7 separate regions of the Homo sapiens genome follow, and all the other regions are linked to region 1. Evidence: promoter capture Hi-C in 16 types of primary human blood cells and fetal thymus (Javierre and others, 2016). All regions are on one chromosome and are shown on one strand. Each heading gives the region's core, a stretch centred on a gene start or on the middle of the fragment in contact. The rest is flanking DNA. Distances are from core to core; before and after follow the strand shown.

Region 1 (3,635 bases), core at 1,018-3,517:
ATTAGGGCTCTGCCCTCATAGCCTAACCATCTCCCAGAGCCCCCACCTCTTAATACTATCACTTTGAGGGTTAGGGATTTAACATATAAATTCTGGGGGGACACAAACATTCAGACCATAACAGGTTGCTTCTTCCATTACTTTTTGTGAAATGCTTGTTCTTAGTTTTTAGTGACGGGGAAATGCTTTTCTATTTTGATAAGACTGAAGTTCCACCTGGCTTTCTACTCTAATCCAAGTGCTCTTTGTATTATAGAACAGGATTTCTGTCAGATTTCTCTAGGTTCTGTCCCATGGTTTGTTGTTACTCTACAGTGATAAGGAAAATTATATTCTGTTTCTGTTGGTGGATAAAATAGCTTCCTGCTTGAGCTCTGAATGGATTTCATCTCCTCCCTTCCAGCAGAAACTGAGCTGCCAAATGACCTTCGAGTGCTGCCTTAACCATACCTTTTGGCTTCTGTAGATCCAGGTTTCATTGAGAAACCCAGGGTTATAAACTGGAGCCCTATATTTTGTTTCATCAGCAAAGTGTGTGTGCATGTCCACATTGATACTTTAAAATGAATCTGAATGCTGTATTAGTTATCTATTGTTACATAGCAAATTACCCTCAATTTAGTGGTTTGAAATAACACATACTTATAATCTCACAGTTTCTATGGTCAGGTATCCAGAAGCAGTTTAGCTGAATGGTTATGGCTCAAAATCTCATATGAGGTTGCAGTCAAGCTCTTGGCTGGAGATGCTGGGAGAGGACCCATTACCAAGCTCAACTGAGCATTTGCTAGCAGGCCTTTTATTTCCTTGCCACATTATTCACACCCTAGGTTGCCTGAATGTCCATATGACATGCAGCTGGCTTCCCCCAGAGAGAGCTGAGAGAGTACGCAGAGAGAAGCTGCAGTCTTTTATGACATAAGCTCAGAAGTGTTATGCCATCGCTTCTTTCATGTGTAAGTGGTCACAAAGACCAACCCTGTACAGTGTAGGCAGGGACTATACAGGGGGGTAATACCAGGAGATGAGGGCCACTGGGGACCATGTTAGAGTCAGGCTACCACAAATGCCTTCAGATAGATTATGTCTTTTAAATTGCAGATTTCAACCAGTCCCTATTGTCTTTCCAGGAACCCAAACCACCAATTCCCCATTCCTTTCGACCTCTCCGTTACCTACCTGCCTTTAACGACATGGGTTTATAACTTCTGGTCTAACCATTTTATGTCCAGTATCCTTTGTATTATATCTCAAAAAAAAAAAAAAATCCTGGCCTCAACCTATAGCTACGCAATTATATTCCACTCTTAGTGCAGACTCTCAAAAGGAATATTAACAAAATATTGAGTATGTGATTACTGCAGCAACAAGTTAAATAAAATGAGGAGGCCAGGTGCGATGGTTCATGCCTGTAATCCCAGCACTTTGGGAGGCTGAGGGGGATGGATCACCTGAGGTCAGGAGTTCGAGACCAGCCTGGTCAACATGGTGAAACCCTGTCTCTACTAAAAATACAAAAATTAGCCAGGCGTGGTGGCGGGCACCTGTAATCCCAGCTACTCAGGAGGCTGAGGCAGGAGAATCACTTGAATCCAGGAAGAGGAGGTTGCAGTGAGCTGAGATTGCACCCTTGCACTCCAGCCTGGGCGACAAGAGCAAGACTCCATCTCGAAAATAAATAAATAAATAAATTGAGGGAGCAGGACATGAACTAGTCAGTTGCAAAACCAAAGTGTCATAACTTCTAACGCAGCTCTCTTTCTTGTACAATGTATGGCCCCTCTTCAGCTTTTCAAGAGGTTGAAGATATGTTCTTGGTTGCTTCAAAGGGCAGAAGCAGAACTAAAAGGTGTGTGATACCAATATTTAGTTCAATATAATGGCAGCTTAGCACTTAGAGACTCCACAGCAATTGAGTGGATTCCATAATTGGAAGCATTCAAATCAAAGTTGGATGATCAACAGTCAGGAATTTCTGGAAGCTTAAGGAGATCAAACCAGAAAACCTCTAAGAAATTTTCTTCCAAATCTGAGTTTTTATAATCTGCTCTTCTGGACCAATGCAAAGTATCTTCCTTAGCCATTAACTCGTATCCTCACTAGCAATTCTATACTAAGAAATAGAAGAGGAAAGCAAGGATTGGCTGAGGAATGCCAGGAGTGAGTTTTCTGTCCTTACCCTAGTTTCACGTCTCTTTGATACCGAGAAAAGTGCTACCCGCTGCTTCTTGCCTCTCATTCCTCCCACTGTTTCTTTTCCACTTTCACTGTCAGCCATAGTCCTTTCTGTCCTAAGAAGTGTATCAGGTGTGTCCCACCCACCATTGTGAGGTTTATGTGTGTGCTCCATAGCGGCTCATTCTTAGAACTTGAATAAGCCCTCCACTGGATTTCAATTCATATCAGAAGGTATTTGAGGGCTGCTACTCAGAGCTAGCATGTTTCTGGGCATTTAGAAGGCAGGGAGGAGGCGTGACAACTGTCACCCCAAAGAACTTACTGTTTGTCTGTAAGTTTTACCACCCCAGCCCACCTCAGTTACAGTATTGATTGGCACTGAGGGGAACAAAAGGCACCTTCCTCATTCTTCAGACTTCATAGTTTTCAGAAATAACCTGTGGGTGACGTCCAAAATTCGCACAAAATAAGCACAAAATTAACCATTACACAAATCACAGAATTTAGCCCATATTTAAGAGAAGCACTTTTCAGCTGCATGGTGATTTTTCCTTCATATATCTCAAATTATTTCCTTCAAAGTCACACTTAGTTGTCTGCTGCATAAACAGAAACCAATATGACACAATTTTAAAATTATATTTAATCGCTTTCATGGTGTGCTCTACTTGGTAAAGAAGGGGGGAAACAAGGTTAAGTAAAGGCCAGGATCCTTTTTCTGCAATGGATGACTGACATGGGAAAGAGATGAGTTACCCAGGCTTTGCTTTTTGCTACCTGCAGTATAAAACTCCCTGACATTGTCCCAAATTGCTTTTACAGGTATTTTATTTTCAACATCTAATTTGTTCGGCTTTTCTTCCCTTGCCATCTTTTTCTTCTTTTGCCATGTATAATGCATAACAACAATTTCTGAACTCCAAAAGCATAGAAACCTCAGAATAACATTACCTGGGAAAAATTAATCTCTCTACCTCCAGCTACCAAGAGAATCATTTGCACATGAAACCCTGAGATTTGCGTCTTTCATTAATCTAATGCAGTAGCAATTGTTATACCACATCGTTCTATTGGAATTGATGACTAATCATTCCCAAAACTCTTTTGAAACTATTGTTCCCATAATTTTGTGTTTTGATTGAAAAATGTCATGACCCTATATCTCTTCATGTTATCTGTTGCATAGCTAACCCTCTCCCTCAGATTTAGTGGCTTAAAACAGCAACCATTTGTTTAGCCCACAATTCTGTTAGGCAGTTCTTCTGGTCTTAAGTGAACTGACTCATGCTCTGTGTTCAGCTGCTGTGTTGGCTGGTGCTGACTGGACTAAGGTGGTCTCAGTTAGAATTACTGCTCTTTGCTCATGTGGTCTCTCATCCTCCAGCAGGCTGGGCTGGTTCACATGGTGGTGGTGGGTTCCCAAGAGCAGTACATTGATATCTGAAGGCCTCTTGAAG
Region 2 (3,548 bases), core at 537-3,036, 730 kb before region 1:
GGGGAATCCTGTCTCATTCCATAGTAGAGCAATAGCTCAACAATGGTCAGGCTATATCCTAAAGCCAGAGAAACAGTGGTCAGTCATGGTTCAATTTCACTTTTGTGCTCCAATGTTAGAACTAAGTTTTTCAAAAATTTATGACAGGTCACCAAGTTATAAAGGAAATGGTTTATGAGAGCTGGTTCCTGTACTGTAAAACAATTTCCACTTACTCTCCTCTCTCTCCCTGAATTTCATCATCTCCCAAGTGCCCCCCACCCCCAGGCTCTCTGCTTTTTGATTCTTCCATTCTGAAGAGGAGAAGGCAGATCTTCCCCTGCATTCTCTGCCAAGGACTCACCCCCTGCTCACTCATCTGCGTTCTGCCACCACAACTTCATAGGCAGCTAAGATCAGTGCTCAAATTTTAAAGTTGCAACCATTTACCTTGGGATCCTGTTAAAATACACATTCAATTTTAGAAGTCCAAGATGAGGCCTCAGATAATGCATCTCTAACACACTCCCAGGCAGGACCTATTATGTCATTTACGAGGTCTAGTACAAAATAAAAATCTGAGCCCGCATGTTAAAAAATTCTTAAGATTTTCAAGATAGCAACAGCAGAGCGTGAAGCCAAGAGCAGGCCTCCTGAGTGCGAGGGCTGGTGTGACTGCCCAGGACCCAGGCCTATGAAGCCGGTCCCACCTCCAAGTGATGCAGGGGTTGGAGGAGCTCAGTTTGCACAGAAAGATTGAATGCCCAGGCCTGGAAAGCAGAGCCTTGTGACGGGCCACACTTTCCACTGGCCTTTCTATCTACTAAGTAAAACCAGCAAAAACACTCATGATTTTTCAGTCTAGATCTCTGATTCATCGATTAAAATTGATAAGTTGGTGACCCTAGAGTAATGCTCCAGAAATGCACTTCTTTTTCTTTAAAACACTCTTGATGAAAGCTTTCCAATTATAAAGAATTAAGAAACATTCTTTGAGCCTTTCTTTAGACAATGATGGAAGAGGAAGGAGGCAGGACAAATGGGAAGGCCCCAGAACCTTCACTCTTGCTCTGAGCTTTGCTCTGTTTGACGATTTTATTGGGGGTAGGTGAAGGGGGATGTTGATGCGGGTCAGTCAGGCAAATTTCACTTTTGTGAAAAGATAGATGGAGACTAAGAAAGATAGATTCTCTCCCTCTCTCTCTCTTTTTTTTTTTTTTTTTTTTTTTTTGAGACAATATCTCGCTCCGTCACCCAAGCTAGAATGCAGTGGTACAATCATGGCTTACTGAAGCCCCAAACTTCTAGGCTCAGCCTCAGCCTCCTCGGTAGCCGGAACAAAAGGCATGCACCACCACACATGGCTAGTTTTTAAGTTTTTTTTAGAGATGGGGGTCGGACTATGTGGGCCAGCCTGGTCTCAAACTCCTGGCCTCAAGCAGTCTTCCTGCCTTGCCCTCCCAAAGGGCTGCGATTACAGGTGTGAGGCACCACACCAGGCCTGATTCTTTTACTCTAATAGCAACCACAAACCAAATATAACTCTGAGCTACATAAATCCTCTTTCCTAGGAAATCAGGCTATCAGAACCCTAGTTGTTGGAGAGTTAAACAAAGTTCTACCACTTTAGGGTTGGATTGCCTCTCAGTTCCAAAGGTAACAGGAAGCCCAGTGTCAGGGTATCACCTGGCCTCCTGCAATCCCAACCCTCCTCACCTTCCCACGCTGGACTCCTCCCTGTTAGCTGCCATTAGGGCATCAGATGGATAGGAAGTAGGAAAATAGGAAATTCAAAATAGTGTATCTAGTGGCATGTTCTCACCTCCTAGGAGGCTGTGAAATATTTGTGAATTTCCCCTGCTTTATTAACAGGCAAATAGCAGTTGTATTACCTGGTTCTTCTCAAAATTTAGTTTAAAAAGAAATCTCACTCTGCCACACTAGCATTTGGCTCAAAATTATGAACAAGGGTTTGTCTGCAGGCAGGGGCCTCAACCCTGCCCTCTGTTGGTGAGAGCTAGAACCTCATAAAATAAGCGGGTGTAGTGGCGCATCTCAGCCACAAGATGGCAGCAGTGCTTCGTGCAGGTCCGAGAAGACGCTGAATGCAGAGGGATCTTTTGAGAGTCAATGCTGATGCGCTAGCCTTCAGTAGGGAAAATTTAACTAGGACTGACTAAACCTTAAGGTTAAGGACTAATCTTGTGGGGCAACTGCCTTTTATATGGTGTAAAAATATCTGCTTGAGAATACAGTATAAGTATTTTATAATTATATGCATACTCAAATCTTTTTCATCTTTATCTCCACCAAGAATCAATCAAGAGGTTTTGTTTTGGTGAATGAATTCTGAGTTTTGACTCACCTCCCTTGAGATTATAGGTTCATTTCCAGTCCCCAGGTGTGTGTGGTCAGAGAATCTCTGTCGTTTCCACTTATGGAATAAAGTTGCCCTGTCCCTGGGACCAATGCCACCATGCTCAAGCACAGCCATGTGTGGACAGGCCACGCCAAGGCCAAGTACCCGGGACAGGGGGGCAGAGAGGAGGCATGAGCAGCAGGGAGAGAACTTCTCAAGGCTGGACCATGAGCCACCACTGGAAGGTGCGTAAGGGGCTGCGCACTCTTTCCGGGGGCTGCCACAACAAAGTACCCAAAGCTTGTGGCTTAAAACGACAAGAACTTCTTTTTAAAACAAGAACTTATTTTACCGTTCTGGAGGCCAGAAATCTGAAATCAAGGTGACAGCAGACCCACACTCCCTCCAAAGGCCTCAGGGAAGAATGCTTCCTGCCCACTCCCAGCTCCTGGAGCCTACTGGCACTCCTTGACTTGTGGCAGTAGAACTGCAGTCTCTACCTCCATCCTCACATGGCCTCCAGGTGCCCCCTCTCTTCTTTTTTGATCTCTTATAAGGACGTTTGTCATTGGACTTGGGGCCCACCCTAAGTCAAGGCCTTCTCATCTCAATATCCTTACCTTAATTATATCTGCAGTGACCTTTCTTCCAAATAAGATCACATTCAGATGTTCTGAGTGGACTTTTATTTTGGGATGGGGGTCATCATTCAACCCACTACAGGTGGGAGGTAGGAGATTCCTTGACACCACTCTAATTATTCTCACCATGATTATGGAATTTCAATCAATGTGGAGAAAAGCCAGTAAACATCAGGACAAAGCAGCAAAGTTCACCTGACTATGAATGTGGGAGCTTCTAGAGATGCATCATTGGCAAAGGCACCCTCTCTCCCCAGAGATGTCTCTTTGAACCCCTCTGTGGAATCTGTGAAATAACTCCCTAGTAACTTGAACCCACTAGGATTTACAGCATTTCAAAATGTGTGTGATTAATAACAATCTAATAACGACACTCTAATTTGTGTACAAATACCATAATATTAACAAAAATACTATAATACAAACATATTCTAATTCAATTAGTCTTTTGTGGTGAACAGGTATGAGCAATTGGATCTATAACCTCATAGTTAATGAGATTATATAACTATATACCATTGGGCAGAAAAAACTGTGATAATGCTACCTACCCTGCTTGCCTAAGAGAA
Region 3 (3,464 bases), core at 720-3,219, 750 kb before region 1:
AGATTTTCATTGAAGTTGTCACCATCAATAATACAATGATTTCATTTTGGCTGATTGAGATTTAGGCAGTCACTGAAACTGTGGCCATGGCATAGCATCCAGTGGTACTCCCCTTAGCCAAGCATACTTTGGCAAGGAGCCTGAATCAAGCAAAGTACTCCCTTAGGTTACTATTTTTCTGATTAAATTTGTAATTATGTGTAAAATTAACTATTGTATTTGCAGGATCAATTGATATTCAGGAGTAAACTGTCTAAATAAAACTTAGAGTTTCTTTTACTCTCTCCTGTCAGAGTCGGGCCACAAAAAGTTAAAAAGTACCATCCAGAGAAGCACAGAAACAGGCATGGCAGCTGAAATGAGAAAGATGGTAAGGCAGCCGAGCCGAGAGTCTACTGATGGCAGCATCAACAGTTACAGCTCTGAGGGCAAGTAAGTGCTGTCAGCACGTCTGCATGGCTGTGGAACCAGGAATTGTGTACTAATCAGTAAGATAACAAAGCCACTGAGTGTTACTGTGCAGCTTCTCTATTTAATCAGAAGTTCAACCATCCATTTTAAACCACCCTGATGGCTTATAAGTAAGTACACATGGACACACCTCTACACCTGGTCATTCATACCTTTCAAAGGGTGAAGAAATTCTGAGTCCACATGAACAAATTGATTTCTTGCATCTAGGAAAGCCCAGACTAGTTCCTTACTGGATGTTTAGTGTACAAATGCCACAGGTAATGGACTCTTTCATATGGGAAACTCATAGTCTGTCCCTGTCACCAAAGTCCAAGTTAAAATTTATAAGTAAGGAACTGATTTCCCATTTTCTTAATTTTCTCCAAGCTATTTTGGACCCTAAGCTTTTCTAAGTCTAACACTGTCATATATGTAAGTTACATTTTCTTGTTTTTAAAACATTGCTGACTCATTTTTACCTTAGGAAATAATCCAGGGTCTATCAGCTTCATTATTTTTCTGACTAAAATGTTTTAGTTAATTCTGAAAAAATAGAATACGATTTTTAAAAATTTACTCTTTTCGATTCTTTTTCTTTTTTTTTTTTTTTTACCATTTCATATGGATCCTGCACAAAACCTGCTTCTTCCTATGCTTGAGAATATTTCTGGTAAAATTGAATTTTTATTGAGGTAGTGGATCTTACAAATAAGTAATTAATGTGTTGTTTTGGATTACATGGAGATTCACCACATATAAATTTTCCATAATTATTTGTTCATTACCATTCACATTACTCATATACCAATTTGATATTTCTAATTTCTTGTCTTTACTGGAATTTTTCTATATTGTTTAGAAAATTTAACAGAATTATGCCAAGTTACTGTTTGTGATATTCCTTCCCATTCCTGAAACTAGTTGGTCTCTGTTTAGTTGGTCAAATGATTGGCTTGTTATGCATGTTTCCAGTAAGGAATATAAGAACAAAAATCAGCAGGTATGAAAGTTACAGAGATAAACTTACTGACAAAATACCCATATTTGATGAAGTAGCATAAAGTAATATACAAATGAGACTTGAACACATCATTTTCTGATATAAAAAAGTAACAAATAAAATTTGCCTCCATCATAAACCATTTAATCTCTTGGATTTATTTTCATGGTCTCTGGATGGGATTATAATCTGTGTCCCATTTAATTTCCTTGGTTAAAAGAAATAATAGATGTGAAAGCACAATGGAAAGAGTAAGTCTCTATAGAAATATGCTCATTCAAAAAATGCTTATTGAATGCCTATCACATAATGAGCATAGTTGTCATTACCCAGTGATAACTACATCAGTCAACAAGAAGAGAACAGGCACTGCCCTTGTGCAGCTTACATCCTGGGGCTATCAGGAAGTTGTATTATAGGAAGAAATACAGATTTTTTAACCAATTAATTTCCATTGGAACCAAATAAAAGTCTCAAATAATTCATCTTTGAATCAATTAAATGTTTATAAATAAGAACTTGAACTATGTTATAACATTTATTCAAGAAATTATTGGCCACTTTAAAAATTTAGCATGAATGTTACCTAATGTTCATGAGCAAGTATCTGTGTGAAGTTTATGATATAAAAATTCGCATCTTATGTTTTTTTGTCAGCAACACATTTATATAAGGATTTGGAACTTGGTATATTAAAAACTATAACTGAGCCCTCTTGAATAGAGCATTAGGTGTTAAATTGAGAGTTTACACCTTTCCTCAGTCAATGTTAAGCCTCATATGCTTGGCTCAAAGGCAATGCAAAGAATCAATTAAAAAAACAGATTGTCTAAGTAATATTTATGTTTCATGATCATAATTAGTCAAGTGGAAACTAGTGAAAAGAATTCTAGAAGATTTCATGGGTTTTTTCCTTTGGTTTTTATCCTTTTGCTGATAGTTTAATATTTCCTGGAGTGCGACTGGGAGCTGACAGTCAATTCAGTGATTTTCTTGATGGATTGGGACCAGCCCAGCTTGTTGGCCGCCAAACCCTTGCCACCCCTGCAATGGGTAAGAATCATTTTTTTTTTCTACAAGAAAATTGATGTTTTGTGTTTGACAAAGTCATTTAAAATATTTAAAATTGTGTAATAGCAATACAAGTGAGAAGCAACATTTTAGCTACAGAGTTACTGTTTGCAAACAACTATTCTAATTTCAAGTGCATTTTTCTAATTTGAGATGTTATGAAAAAAGAAGTAAAATTAGCTATAAATATTTGAATTACCAGAAACCCTGATATAATAGATGTAAATGTAGGACATGGGTGGCATTTCACAGCATGGAAAAAAAAAAAAAAAGACTGTTCAGTAAAGTATAGTAACATAACTATTTACCTGTGTGAAAAAATTAATGGAATTCCCTCACGCCTACACAACTTACCAAAAAAGTTAGTATTTTAGACTCAACTATAAAAAAGAAAAGGGAAGGTGGAGAAAAACACTAAAAAGTACTGGAGAACACTTAAGTTAATCTGTCTGTAATCTTGCAGTGGGAAAGAACTTCAGCAAAATGCATGAAAATAGATCAGCTTGAAGACACAACATAGTGGAATTTCACAATACTGAGGCTTGATAGAAAATCATGCAAGCTTCCTAAGAGGAAAAATAATTTTACAAAAAAACTATCAAAAATCAGATTCTTGCCGGGCGCTGTGGCTCACGCCTGTAATCCCAGCACTTTGGGAGGCCGAGACAGGCGGATCACGAGGTCAGGAGACCGAGACCATCCTGGCTAACACGGTGAAACCCCCGTCTCTACTAAAAATACAAAAAAAATTAGCCGGGCATAGTGGTGGGCACCTGTAGTCCCAGCTACTCGGGAGGCTGAGGCAGGAGAATGGCGTGAACCCGGGAAGTGGAGCTTGCAGTGAGCCCAGATCAGGGCACTGCACTCCAGCCTGGGCGACAGAGCGAGACTCCGTCTCCAAGAAAAAAAAAAAAATCAGATTCTCATTGAGCTCTTCGTA
Region 4 (3,454 bases), core at 782-3,281, 820 kb before region 1:
ACCATAGCGACTCTGCTGGGATCAGGCTTATGTCGACCGCCCAGAAGTTGCCCTTGGCCTGGAGCTTTGCAGGGTCCACAACTATACATTTAGTAAAATTTGGCATTTGATGTCAGTAGGCATAATAATCAGTAAGCATATACTGAAAGGAATGTTCTTCTATTTATTTGAGGATTTTAAAACAATATAGATTAAATTATTTTATATTTTAAGTTGTGATAACAAATATAGAAGTTAATATATTCTGGAATGTCAATCTTGATATTACAGTTATGTTTGAAAAGTGTTATAGAAAATAATTTCAAATGCCCCTTATTTCACAATAGTTCTTCAATTCAGTAAGGCAATACAGGATAAAATTCAAAAGTAATCCTTGGATTTTTGTGATGCATATGAAAATCTTGAGTTAGAGTTATCTATATATCCAATACATGAAGCTTATTATCTACACTGTTCCGAACTTCAATTGCTTTACTACTCTTTTGCCTATTCGATTTGGTATTTACTGAAAATGCTCAGTTAAGATCTATGAAGAGGATTTGTCAACTTCTTTATTATTCTGTCCATTTTTTCTTATATGAGATTACTTAATTAGGTTCAAGTTCAGAATTATTTTGTCTTTCTGGCGATTTAACCTTTTATCATTATGTAATAAATCTCTTTATTCCTTATAATATTATTTTGTTTTAAAGTCAGTTTTTCTTACATGATAACACAAGCTATTTTCAGTTAGTGTTCAATCTAACTATTCACTGTTCACATCTTTTTGTGTCAACTTTTCTATGACCAATGTGTTATACTCACATAAACAGCAAATAGCTAGGTTTAATTTTTTTCTGACCACACAATCTCTATCATTTAATTGGCTAGCTTATCAATTTGCATTTATTTTGATTCTTATAGACTTGGAATTACTTCTATATTGGTGTATGCTTTTAATTTTTCTTATTCTATTTTTTCTCTTTCCTGATCGGTTTTTAATTGAATTATTTTTCTTTCATTTCCCCCCTCCATTACACTGGAAATTATGCAGTTTCTGTGATTTTTACTGACTAGTTTCTCAAGTATATAAATTTTGTTAAGTAGTCAATTTAAAATTAATAATTACCTCTACTTTCTCCTAGGAAAAAAAATGACTGTCATATGCTTCGCTGTGCTACTATCCCTCCCCCATTTGCATATTCTTGTACAATGTTTTAATTATAGATTGGTTCATTTTCCCCTTATTGCATGTTATTTTTTTAAATGCCTTATATTAAACCATATGTATTCTAGTTTCTTTGCTAACCATTTTTCGTGCATCTTAGACCTTCATTCTGGATCATTCTCCTCTCTGAGAAAAGTGCATTAGAAAGCCACCAGTGAGGGTCTGTGAGAGCTTAGACTGAGACACACGTTTTTCCTTGTTGTTCTTTAAGGGTCTTGACTCATGAGGATTTCAGTTCTAACTCCTCACTAGACCTGAAAGGTTTCCAAAGATTCATCATTCACTTACCGACCTGTTTTAGTTCTCGTTTGGTTTTTGGCTAAGGACATATGCCTTTCTTTCTTGTGACCTCAAGTTGGTATTTTAACAGGCATTTGTTGTAATTTTCCCATCATAATTACTAGGCATTTGGAAGTGAAAGGATTTTTTAGAATCAGAATATATCATCTACCATACTGCCAGAAATAGTTCATATTTGATGTGTTACCATTTTTTAAAATTTTTTTTTAAATTTGCTTACTTGAAAAGGATAATATTTAAAAATAATTAATAAATAAGAAAAAACATGTAGGTGTGAAAAGTAAGAAGGATCATGGCCCTAGAGACTTTATCCCAAGTTAGAGGGCAAATGCCAAGGCAGAGCAAGCAGAGTTGGATGTTAAACTGGAAGTAATATCTAAGGGGCTTAAGAAAAATAACAATCAGGAACATAGAAGGAGATGGTGAAGGGAGCCAAGAACTGGAAAACTTTCAGGAAAGAAGAGAGTGCCAGCAGAGACAGGACCATTTCAGTCATGAGGTGTAATGGAAGGAGGAGAATGAAGAACTAATGTGGGAGGTAAAGGTTGATACAGCTCAAACTGAGAAAGAGATTCTGAAGTCTCAGAGGATATTGAATATAAGGGAGAAGAATGAAGTGAGCCTGAAGTTAAGGGAATGGTTAGTGATTGCTGAATAAACAGCATCTTGTGATCAGAGTTCCTATGCCAGGACAATGTGAAGACTACCAGCCTGCCCTTAAAGACTGCTTTTGACTCAGATGTGAATCTTTGGTTCTGTCAGCTATGGCTCAGTACTTCTACTAACCAATATTGAGAGCTTCATTCAACAAGTGTACAACTTCTTTAGACCTTGATTTTTTTTCACTTAGTCATAGATTTATTCATTTACTTATTCACCAGTCATTTATTGGGTACATCTTATACGCAGGTGCCGTACACTATCTAGTATAAAACAAAACACATGATTCCTAGATCTATGTTTTTAGTGGATTTTCATACAAGTGTAATAATAATATTAAATGTATATTCATCTGAAAAATGTGAATCATACCTGCCACTCCTACCTTACCAGACTGTTTGAGAATAAAATGAAATAGTGTATATCAGAATACTTTGAAAATATAGCATTTTGCTTTATAACTCAGTTACTGCATACATGGTATGAAGTATTAGATAAGTTACTTTATACTTTTAAGTCATCCTTGAATGTCTTCTGAGAGACGGCTAACACATAATATAGTGCAACGGCATTTAAAATTCGAATTTTGATTACTAATATTTAACTTATCCACTTCACAGTGCTTCATGGTGAGTTGGATGAATTTAACAGTTGGATTTGACACTTGAAGAGTTCAGTTTTATTCGAGTGTTTTTCAAAGTTATGCCCATGGACTGTTGGTGTTCTAATGAACCTTATTGTCTCCAAGAATTGCCTGATAGACAGGAGAAAGTTGTCCAAGGAGCAGGAGAAAAACTAAACGGGGAGGAGAATTCCTAGACTGCAGGACTTCAGCAACTTCAACTAAAGCAGTTCTACTAGTATTTGTTTAGTACAACAGAAGTCTGTGAAGTAGTTTATTTTTAAAAAGGAAGCCAGGCACTGCTGCTTTAAAAACATATTGTAAACCAAAATATATGGCACAGTAAATTCTAGTGCTATTACTTCCAAGGAGAAAATTAAAATATGAGATGTGGTTCTACTTCTCTAGTTATTACCTGTTTTTAAAATTCAGATAGTACCATAATTTGGCTGAAGGATTATGCAATGTATAGTGAAACTTCAGTATAATACACTAAGAAAAAACAAATTCCAAAGAAAAAGAAAACTACTAGAATGTTCTATATTGGTCTTAGTTGGTCTGTTTTTCTACTATATATTATGTTTATTATACACTTGGTATATGAGATAAATACTTATTATTGTTTTTTAGCATTTTAGCTTTAAATAGCATTATATAGATTGTCC
Region 5 (3,432 bases), core at 120-2,619, 780 kb before region 1:
AATTACACCTTTAAAAATAGTCAAGATGGATAGCCATATAAAAATTATTCCATAGAGCATGAGTATCTGAAGGAGGCTGTACTCTATGTGCAGTCCCCGCATGCTACCTGTGAAATGTGAATCGTTTATAGTCTGTGGCAAATAAAAGTTATGTCATTCTAATCTTTATAAAATACTAATCAATTGACTAATTCATGAAAAATTCTCTTATCTTTCTCAAATATTGGCTAAACCACATAGTCCTCCAGCCTTACAAAGTAGAGTAAGCTTCTCTTTGGCAACTGTGTTGGTCAGGCTCCCCTAAAAACAGACCCTGAAACAAAGATTTGAGTGCAAGTAGTTTATTTGAGAGTTGATCCCCGGGAAGCACGAGTATTGATTGTGGGGAAATGAGACAGGGAAAGGAAGTCAAAATACGGTGTTTAATTATCAGATTTCTGCTGTAGGCAATTGGGGTTCTATGGGAGACTATGAGAAGTGTTTCCTCTGAGCGTGAGGAAATTGTAGGATTTATCCAACATCTCTCATTTGTCCTTGGCTATGGGACTGCTTGCAGAGTCACTGACTTCTTCAGGCCTGCTTTCCTTATGCTCACAGCTGACTACACAATTGGAAGGAACCCTCAGCAGAGGGTTGGAGGTGCTTCCAGTAAGACAGCATCCTTGCATACAGGAACAGTGAATGTCTACGGGGCATAGCCAGGATACCAATAGCATCTGCTCCCGTAGTTTTCTACCCAGAGTCTCCACCTAATTGTGTGGTTTGGTCTTTGCACAGAGGTGCCCAGCCAGTGAGGGGCTCTAAGGCACAAAAGTGCTCTTTGCCCAACCACAAGTTCTATGAGGTTATTTCATTTCTGATTTGTTCAAATTTGCAGTATGTGCTTGAGGAAGCCATTCTTTTACGTTCTTTCTCTGTGCCTTCTCTTCCCTGCTGGGGTCCTCTGGCAGGATTTTAACACTGTTTATATTCCACCTTTATTCAGGGCACCCAACCATGGCATTCCACATGGATATGGCAGCCTTCTATAAACCCAGATAAATACTCCAAGTTCTGAGAGGCAGATACATTGTTTACCAAGGTACCAGTAGGCTAAACTTTTGAATTACATAGACTTCATCCCTTGCCATTTCAATTTTAATACCAGTCCTGTCAAAATTCCAAAATATCACTTGCAGTTTTGAGGCAGGTTTAGTTTAACTTGTATTGCTCTACCACTTATATGTCTATTGACTATATAATTTAGCATCCAAACTGGAATATCTTTGTAAGTAAAAGAGGGCCACCATTAGTAATATGCTAGAACAGGCATAAACCAGGATTATCCTGGTTAACCATGAAAAATGATCACTCTTGCTGACTTTTACTCCTTCATGCTGTTGACACAGCCCTGGAGGGAAAAAGAGGAAAAACAGAACACTCTAGACTCTAATGTTTTTAATTCCTTAGTGCCATTATGGAGGTGAGGAGGAGCCACACAGAAATATGCTCTTACGGTAAAATCCTGTTGTTTCCATATTCCTTCCATGAACATGATGTTATAAAAAGAGCTTAAAGAGCTTACACACGTTTGAAGAAGACGGGCCTTAGAATTTGGTTGTGTTTTGGAGGGTTTTGTTTTCACTTGTGGTGGTAGCTGTGACACTTACTACTTCTTAACTCTCTGAACCTCTCATGCATGTAAAACATAGCAATACCAATACCAGAGAATTATGATAAGGGTTAATGGAAATGTGTGTAAAGCTCTAAGCATAAGGCATGGTATGTAAAAAGTGCTCAACAGAAGTTAGAACCTTTTTTTTCTAAGTTTTTCTATTTCCAGTGTTCTAGTGTTTTTCTCGTGGCAGTAGGGTGGGACGTGAAACGACACAGGGAAAGCAGCTGAAACCTATCAGTGTTTAATAAGTATATATTGAAAGTGATAATTTTGACAGCTTAAGTGTATTAAATGTGTATTACAAGTGCCAAGTGAGTACAACACAAGAGATCGATATAGAACCTTCCCCTTAATTGTGTAAAAACCTTTTAAACAAACTTATCCTGGAAATCACGTATTAGCCCTGAGCTTTACTTCTCTGAGATTTCTTACCTAATTGGAGAAGCTATATTATATTCAATAAAGTAGGCAACATATTTTCATTTCATTTGATTTAAATGTCTTTGTTACATAGTTTGTTTAAAATGTTGTGACTGTGGCAGTTTTCAAATTGTGGCCCTTTAGCAGTTTTCAAATTTATGACACATGGCAAATTTGCTTAGTGATGTTACACTTCATGGTCTTACAATAAGCTATAGGAAAGAAGCACTCTTGACAGAAGCAATTTAATTATATTCTGTATATGCATGAGAAGGAGAGAGTGTCGGAGGGTGAGGGAGGAGGAGAGAGAATGGGAGAGAGACAGAGAAGACAGTTCACAGGCAGCTCAGACAGATATTCCAGCCAGCCACCGCACAAGTTATTTAAACCAGGTCAAAGCTTCTTTGGCATTCAGTTTTCCCCAGAGAACAATTTAATGCTGATACTTAATTTTTTCAAGATAGACAAGGTAAGTCTATGTTCCTTATATGTATTTACTAAGTTATAAGGGGAGTTTGTTTATTTATAACTTTTCATAAAACCTAGCCAAAAGCCAAATTTCTATATTTGTCTGAAGCTTTCAGTGTTGTTTAACAGTTTTCAAAGGTAGTGTTATACTTCAGATTGCAAATAATTAAATGAAAATGAAAAAACATAAAAATTATGCAGTGGACGAAATAATTAAAAAATGATGTTGCAACAGTAGATTTATTTATAGCATTGTAATATCCAAATATGATTAACTTTAAAGCTAGACTTACAGGATTTTAAAGCTGGATTTGAAGTTGAGCAGTCCTTAAACTCATTACTACCAAAACATAAATCTTAACGGTATCATAAAGTTATATTTTTCTTTAAAACAACTTTATTCTTATTTAAAATTTGTCAGCTATACTGTATACAATATAGCCCTTCTAGGTACAATTCAGTGCAAATATATGAGCATTTCTTTTGGAAATTCAGAAGTATATTTACTTTGCATTTTGAAATTATCAGTCACATTTTCTATTTAGGCTTCCTAAATTTTGCCTTTTATTTTGTTATTTTCAGGCAAGGACCAGGGAAATGTCAGCTTTTAGATCCAAAGGAAACATATGTGTTAATAATTTGATGAAATTTCAAAAATAGATTTATTTTGTGCTTTCAGAAAAAGTGTGGGTAGAAGTATAACCTCATAATTTATTTCTAGAATCATTTTCTTATTCACTGATACTCTGATGTCACAAACAGCCTGGCTGAAATTGAAAGTGTACAGTTGTCACCACTAGAGTTTGAAAAGGACAGTCTTACATACATATATATATTCAAAAACAGTGCTGTTCTCCAAAGACTAAACATATAATCTGTGCAGTACT
Region 6 (3,630 bases), core at 477-2,976, 710 kb before region 1:
TTAGGATTGACTTGGCAATGTGGGATCTTTTTTTGGTTCCATATGAACTTTAAAGTAGTTTTTTCCAGTTCTGTGAAGAAAGTCTTTAGTAGCTTGATGGGAATGGCATTGAATCTATAAATTACCTTGGGCAGTATGGCCATTTTCATGATATTGATTCTTCCTATCCATGAGCATGGAATGTTCTTCCATTTGTTTGAGTCCTCTTTTATTTCATTGAGCAATGGTTTGTAGTTCTCCTTGAAGAGGTCCTTCACATCCCTTGTAAGTTGGATTCCTAGGTATTTTATTCTCTTTGAAGCAATTGTGAATGGGAGTTCACTCATGATTTGTCTCTCTATTTGTCTGTTATTGGTGTATAAGAATGCTTTTGATTTTTGCACATTGATTTTGTATCCTGAAACTTTGCTGAAGTTGCTTATCACCTTAAGGAGATTTGGGGCTGAGACAAAGGGGTTTTCTAAATGTACAATCACGTCATCTGTAAACAGGGACAATTTGACTTCCTCCTTTCCTAATTGAATACCCTTTATTTCTTTCTCCTGCCTGATTGCCTTGGCCAGAACTTCGAACACTATGTTGAATAGGAGTGGTGAGAGAGGCCATCCCTGTCTTGTGCCCATTTTCAAAGGGAATGCTTCCAGTTTTTGCCCATTCAGTATGATATTTGCTGTGGGTTTGTCATAAATAGCTCTTATTATTTTGAGATGCGTCCATCAATACCGAATTTATTGAGAGTTTTTAACATGAAGGGCTGTTGAATTTTGTCAAAGGCCTTTTCTGCATCTATTGAGATAATCATGTGGTTTTTGTCTTTGGTTCTGTTTATATGCTGGATTACGTTTATTGATTTGCATATGTTGAACCACCTTGCATCCCAGGGATGAGGCCCACTTGATCATGGTGGATAAGCTTTTTGATGTGCTGCTGGATTCAGTTTGCCAGTATTTTATTGAGGATTTTTGCATCAATGTTCATCAGGGATATTGGTCTAAAATTCTTTTTTTTTGTTTTGTCTCTGCCAGGCTTTGGTATCAGGATGATGCTGGCCTCATACAATGAGTTAGGGAAGATTCCCTCTTTTTCTACTGATTGGAATAGTTTCAGAAGGAATGGTACCTGCTCCTCCTTGTACCTCTGGTAGAATTCGGCTGTGAATCCATCTGGTCCTGGACTTTTTTGTTGGTAGGCTATTAATTATTGCCTCAATTTCAGAGCCTGTTATTGGTCTATTCAGAGATTCAACTTCTTCCTGGTTTATTCTTGGGAGGGTGTATGTGTTGAGGAATTTATCCGTTTCTTCTAGATTTTCTAGTTTATTTGCGTAGAGGTGCTTATAGTATTCTCTGATGGTAGTTTGTATTTCTGTGGGATTGGTGGTGATAACCCCTTTATCATTTTTTATTGTGTCTATTTGATTCTTCTCTCTTTTCTTCTTTATTAGTCTTCCTAGCAGTCTATCAATTTTGTTGATCTTTGTTGAAAACCAGCTCCTGGATTCATTGATTTTTTGAAGGGTTTTTTTTGTCTCTATCTCCTTCAGTTCTGCCCTGATCTTAGTTATTTCTTGCCTTCTGCTAGCTTTTGAATGTGTTTGCTCTTGCTTCTCTAGTTCTTTTAATTGTGATGTTAGGGTGTCAATTTTAGATCTTTCCTGCTTTCTCTTGTGGGCATTTAGTGCTATAAATTTCCCTCTACACACTGCTTTAAATGTGTCCCAGAGATTCTGGTATGTTGTGTCTTTGTTCTCATTGGTTTCAAAGAACATCTTTATTTCTGCGTTCATTTCGTTATGTACCCAGGAGTCATTCAGGAGCAGGTTGTTCAGTTTCCATGTAGTTGAGTGGTTTTGAGTGAGTTTCTTAATCCTGAGTTCTAGTTTTTGATTGCACTGTGGTCTGAGAGACAGTTTGTTATAATTTCTGTTCTTTTACATTTGCTGAGGAGGGCTTTACTTCCAACTATATGGTCAATTTTGGAATAAGTGCGAAGTGGAAAATGCACCAATATTTTTCTATTTACTACCCAGATTGTGGGAAAATAAATGATCAGAAATCTAATTTTACCTTTTATGTAATAGAGTAATGGTAAACATTATGATTGTTTAATTTTAATGTATTCATTTTTGATAAATGTAATCATGGAGAAAATAACGCCAATCACATAACCACCAGCCCCTACTGAAATGTTCCTAAAGGTGACAGTGTGTTCTGCCAAAACCATATTCACAGTTAGTAAGTATTATGATGCTAAATAACTGGAGTGCATCTATACTGGACTCATAAAAGCACTTTCCTTTTCATCAATAAATCTAGCACATGATTTTCACAAGATAAAAGTGACTTGGGGTTTTCATTTGCAACATCACAGGAACATTAAAATGGTGGTTATAATAACTATATTAAAGCAGAAAACACTGGCCTAAGCCAAAAAAGCAAAGATAGTTGGCCAGAACAGAAAAATACCCAGGAAATTAAAAAATAAATAAAAACAAAGTAAAATTTCATAGTTAAGTGAGTTTTTAAAACAGATTTAATACCTAAAGCTTTGGCAAAACTTTATTTTACTTCATCATCACTGTTTACTTAACGGATAGTAATTTTTTTAAAAAAGTAGAGGCTGGTTGGGTATGGTGGCTCACACCTGTAATCCCAACACTTTGGGAGGCCAAGGCTTGTGCCCAAGAGTTTGAGACCAGCCTGGGCAATATAGTGAGACCCCTCTCTAGAAAAAGTAAAAATGAAAAAAAAATTAGTTGGGCATGGTGGCACACACTGTAGTCCTAGTTACTCAAGTAGCTGAGGTGGGAGGATCAGTTGAGCCCAGGAGGTCGAGGCTGTAGTGAGCTATGATTGCACCACTGCACTCCAGCCTGGGAGACAGTGAGACCCTGTCCAAAAAAAAAAAAAAGAAAGAAAGAAAGAAAGAAAGAAAGAAAGAAAGATGTAGAAATGTAGAAACCTAAGGGCATATTAAAGTGACAACATCTTAAAAGTTTTAAGGCTGTCCAAAATTTTGACAATTGCCAGGTTTACATTTTCATTCACCTCTGTTGAGCGTATTCTGTTCCTTGACTCTTTAGTCATAGGCTCACACTCACATGTACTCAGACCACCTCACCCAACTCATCTGTTCAATATTCTTGACCAACCTCTTGCAACATTTACACAACAGAAGTCAAGTCCAAACAACTATTATCATTGTTTTCAAATCATCTGTGGGATATTTGGATCTTATCCTTAGCCAATTCAGCAATGGTTATGGTTATGAACAAGGCCCAGTAACAGTGAAGATCTTTTGGTGTCTAGTCGCTAAATCAGTGGGACTTGGCCATTGTTATTCAGACATTGCTGTTAGGTCTCCCATGTGTCCCTAAGCTGCCATCCCAGTCCTTCTCACATCCCCCATCCTAATGCCACAGGCTCTTGCATTTTTGCTGTCCCCAAGCTGACATGGACAGAGGTTTTCTTCTGTTTTGTCAATCTTGTATCTCTAAATGAGAAAGGTCCCACTTTCGTTTCAATTCAAACATCTCTGTCCTTTTATTTTATTTCCATTAATGAGGTCATAATATACTCTTCTCTCAGGGTGTACCTCATTATGGAAGCTGTCTGAGAGTCTGAAAAAAAC
Region 7 (3,282 bases), core at 131-2,630, 800 kb before region 1:
TGTCATGTTTACATTTATACCATACGTCTATTGATATCTCTTGTTAGACACAGTGATTCTCAGAACGAAGACTTATGCCCCCATAGATAAGACTCTTTATATCTTCAACTTTGCCCTAAAATTGATACCTGGCTTAGCTGTTTACATAAAGTAGTAAAAGCACGTCACTCAACCCTAATTTTCCCAGTTGGGGGCTCAAGGACCAAGTCTGTGATTTCAGTGATTGTATCCCAGTATGTAGCACAAAGCCTGTACCACATACAGAAAAGTTTTCTGGAATGAAAGAAACTTTTGGAAGAGTTTTCTGTATTCCCTTTCTTTCTGAGGCCACTCAGTCCCCCTCACTGCAGTCTGAATTCTGTCTATTCGATTTCCCCAAACTGTTCTTAGTAGATCACAGAAAGTTTATAGATATGAACTTATTTTAATAATTTAACTTATGGTGTAGGCCACAGATATTGTGCACATGTGAAACCAATGTGATGTATGTAACAGAAAAATAGTAAAAAATGTCCACTTTTATTTGACATGAGCAAATGATTCTTATTTATGTTCCATCTCTTAAATGTGTAACTTCATTTCTTTCTATGCATCAGACCTATCTTCCTGGGGTTCACAGAACACAACTTAAAGCTTCTTTCTTTGTACCTCTCTACAGGTGCTCTACCCAGAAAATTCTTAATCTGTCAGTTTGTCTGTCAAAATCTTTCTCTTCATTCAAGCCCTACCCAAATATCAACTTCCTACCAGGACCGAAAGTAATTTTTTTAAGTCCTATAAGACTTTTAGGGAGTTCTCATGTGGTGCTGTTTACATCTGTAGAATTCATGTCACAAAATGAACTCCGAAGTAAATCAAGGGTAATGACCACGCAACAGGTTTTTTCTGGTCTTTCACAACAGTGCATTTAATGCAGAAGAATCTTGATAAACGTCTGTTAGATAGGTGAATGTGATGTTTGCTTAGTCAAAACATAATGCTCAAATGGTAATTAATTGATCAAATCATGGTATAATATTTCATTTAACATTGTGACAAGCAAGCTCTTCTTAGTGGGTAAATTTTTCTTCTATGTTTGGTTTGTTATTCTTAGGAAATAAAAACATGTTTTTTAAGTTGTAACAAGTACAGTTGACTCTTAAACAATGCAGTTTGAGCTTCGCAGGCCCGCTTATACACAAATTTTTTTGTCAAACAAATGCAAATCCAAAATAAAGTATTCATGGGAAATATTATAGAAACCTGCATATGCGGAGGGATAGCTTTGATTTTGGTATACATGGTGGTCATCCTGGAGTCAATCCCCAACGTTTACTGTCGGACGACTGTAGAAGTGATTTGTCTATTACTTTGCAACCTCCCTTTTCCTTTCTTTCTCTTCTTTGCTTATATATCACTTCAAAAGCACCTGAACATTGCTCTCGATAGATTTAACCAGTTAATTCTACCTTATTGCTTTTAAATATTAACTCTTTTATAAGCAAGAATAAATAATTATCATTTTAAGATTTTGATTTTTTAATAGATTCAGAGGGTACATTTGCAGGTTTGTTACATGGATAAATTGCCTAATGGTGAGGTTTGGGCTTCTAGTGTACCCATCACCCAAATAGTAAACACTGTACCCGATAGGTACTTTTTTTCAGCACTCACTCCCTTTACTGCCCTCTCCCCTTTGTGGAACCTCCAGAATTGGTGCTGATTTAACTACTTTACCATTACAGTAAATGTCAAATAAAGTAATATTTTATTAGAAAATTATTGAAAGATAAAAATGTACATTTATGAGAAATAATAATGATTGATAAAGATATTAATTTACAACATCCTTTTATATCATTTATAAAAGGTTTATTAACCTTATGAAAATACTTAAGTATTTAAGCAAAAATGCCCAGATTTTTTGGGAATCTTTCTTTTGTTGGGCATAGGGCCAGAGGAGGCTTGTGAACAAAGGATCTACTGTAACTGCTTTTCAAGTAAGCTAGTGAATTCTTACTTGGGAAACAAACCTCTGATATTGAAGCAGTACATTGTGATACTCATTACAAAATCATTTATACTGTAAAGATTATTTTCTTACAACCGAAAAATGTGGTACACCCAATGATTAGTCATAGTTTTAGTGAAGCTTAACAGACTTTATGTTCTAGGTCTACAAGGAGGTAAAAAACATTCTGTGTTCCAGATTCAAAGTCAGTGCCATAGGATGTTTTTGTAAATGGAAATACCATACTTATTTTTCTCTTAATTTGAAACTATGAAGATTCTGACAAGTAATCAAATAGTAAATAATTATACTACATTTAGGAAAGTTTCAACTGAAAGAGATTAAAACTTATTTGTAATAACTAAAGTTACATTTATAAATAGGCATATAGTTGCATTGAAACACTGCTATATCTAGTGATGTAATGATGTAAAAGTATATTAGTTGGGAAATATAAAAATTAACATATATATTAATATTTTTATCACTCTGAATTTGAAATTGTAAGAATGAATATTTGACCTGTCTACCTGCATTATGGAAACTGAAAATGGATGTAAATACTCTAATGAGGAAGGATTCTTTAAAGGAAAGGATATTGATTAGAAACTTACCGGAAAGGGTTGATTAGAAACCCACAGGAAAAATAAAGCCAAAACAAAGTTAATCATCTTTAGGTAACTTAACCTGCTGCTGAAAATACTAGTTCCTGTTTATAGTTTCTACCTTGGGAAGTACACTCAACCTATTATTCAATTGTTTTTAAAAAGGAAAAATAAAACAGAAGAATCATTTTAAGAAAATATTACATAAAATTTATAGAGATTTATAACTAGTGTAGGATTCTGTGATCTTCGGCTAATCAAAGAAGAAAACATACTAATTGTCATAGGTTTTGGAGACTTATTGAGAAGATTGTTGTGAATAGCAAGGAAAATAGTAGGAAAAATTTACCTTTGAAGTAAAAATTTACTCTCACTTCAGTTCTTTGGCTTTCTATAATGCTTAATAATTCTGTCTTCTCATGGATCATTCTTTATTCTCTTTCAAATCACAGTTTGAAAAGTATATTTTTGTGGGAAAAATATTTAATAAATCACAGAATTTTAAAAATCTAATTTTTGTACACAGAAAAAAGGAAGGAAAAAAGACTAAATTCAGATATTTTGATGTTGCAGTAAATGTGTTGACCATGATAATAAAGCATATTTTTTCCAGAGCTGCTTGAATTTGCTCTCAGTGCAATTGCAAGTATTGACTTTAATTTCTGAGAGGTTTGTAGCTTCAATGAT

The links. Contacts are between HindIII fragments. The CHiCAGO score rates a contact against its expected background, and 5 or more counts as called.
Region 2: a fragment that was not itself captured here is called in contact with the fragment with the promoter of KCNQ5-AS1 in region 1 in 17 of 17 cell types (naive CD4 T cells, naive CD8 T cells, naive B cells and 14 more); the score reaches 33.9 in naive CD4 T cells.
Region 3: a fragment that was not itself captured here is called in contact with the fragment with the promoter of KCNQ5-AS1 in region 1 in 17 of 17 cell types (naive CD8 T cells, total CD4 T cells, naive CD4 T cells and 14 more); the score reaches 16.4 in naive CD8 T cells.
Region 4: a fragment that was not itself captured here is called in contact with the fragment with the promoter of KCNQ5-AS1 in region 1 in 2 of 17 cell types (total B cells and naive B cells); the score reaches 5.4 in total B cells.
Region 5: a contact is called between a fragment that was not itself captured here and the fragment with the promoter of KCNQ5-AS1 in region 1, in 8 of 17 cell types (total B cells, naive CD8 T cells, naive B cells and 5 more). The highest score is 9.9, in total B cells.
Region 6: a fragment that was not itself captured here is called in contact with the fragment with the promoter of KCNQ5-AS1 in region 1 in 12 of 17 cell types (naive CD8 T cells, non-activated CD4 T cells, total B cells and 9 more); the score reaches 9.4 in naive CD8 T cells.
Region 7: a fragment that was not itself captured here is called in contact with the fragment with the promoter of KCNQ5-AS1 in region 1 in 5 of 17 cell types (total B cells, naive B cells, naive CD8 T cells and 2 more); the score reaches 9.5 in total B cells.

Annotation. Positions count from the first base shown.
Region 1 is chr6:73,141,247-73,144,881 of GRCh38, forward strand. It overlaps KCNQ5-AS1 (KCNQ5 antisense RNA 1), which reads right to left and starts at 2,268. Exons shown (of 5, transcript NR_046621.1): 1 at 2,180-2,268. All of the region lies in intron 10 of KCNQ5 (potassium voltage-gated channel subfamily Q member 5), which reads left to right. The HindIII fragment of the contact is 1,820 bases long and covers 1,981-3,635 here.
Region 2 is chr6:72,410,358-72,413,905 of GRCh38, forward strand. No RefSeq gene overlaps it. Among named protein-coding and RNA genes, the nearest start is that of KCNQ5, 210 kb to the right of the region's middle. The HindIII fragment of the contact is 1,699 bases long and covers 938-2,636 here.
Region 3 is chr6:72,390,305-72,393,768 of GRCh38, forward strand. RIMS1 (regulating synaptic membrane exocytosis 1) reads left to right here. Exons shown (of 34, transcript NM_014989.7): 30 at 294-432; 31 at 2,394-2,506. Among named protein-coding and RNA genes, the nearest start is that of KCNQ5, 230 kb to the right of the region's middle. RefSeq lists a silencer at 410-610. The HindIII fragment of the contact is 2,229 bases long and covers 856-3,084 here.
Region 4 is chr6:72,317,321-72,320,774 of GRCh38, forward strand. All of the region lies in intron 28 of RIMS1 (regulating synaptic membrane exocytosis 1), which reads left to right. It also overlaps the pseudogene LOC100418957. Among named protein-coding and RNA genes, the nearest start is that of KCNQ5, 300 kb to the right of the region's middle. The HindIII fragment of the contact is 3,193 bases long and covers 436-3,454 here.
Region 5 is chr6:72,364,321-72,367,752 of GRCh38, forward strand. The region is part of intron 29 of RIMS1 (regulating synaptic membrane exocytosis 1); the gene reads left to right. Among named protein-coding and RNA genes, the nearest start is that of KCNQ5, 260 kb to the right of the region's middle. The HindIII fragment of the contact is 2,209 bases long and covers 266-2,474 here.
Region 6 is chr6:72,428,138-72,431,767 of GRCh38, forward strand. No RefSeq gene overlaps it. Among named protein-coding and RNA genes, the nearest start is that of KCNQ5, 190 kb to the right of the region's middle. The HindIII fragment of the contact is 1,633 bases long and covers 911-2,543 here.
Region 7 is chr6:72,347,071-72,350,352 of GRCh38, forward strand. The region is part of intron 29 of RIMS1 (regulating synaptic membrane exocytosis 1); the gene reads left to right. Among named protein-coding and RNA genes, the nearest start is that of KCNQ5, 270 kb to the right of the region's middle. The HindIII fragment of the contact is 1,498 bases long and covers 632-2,129 here.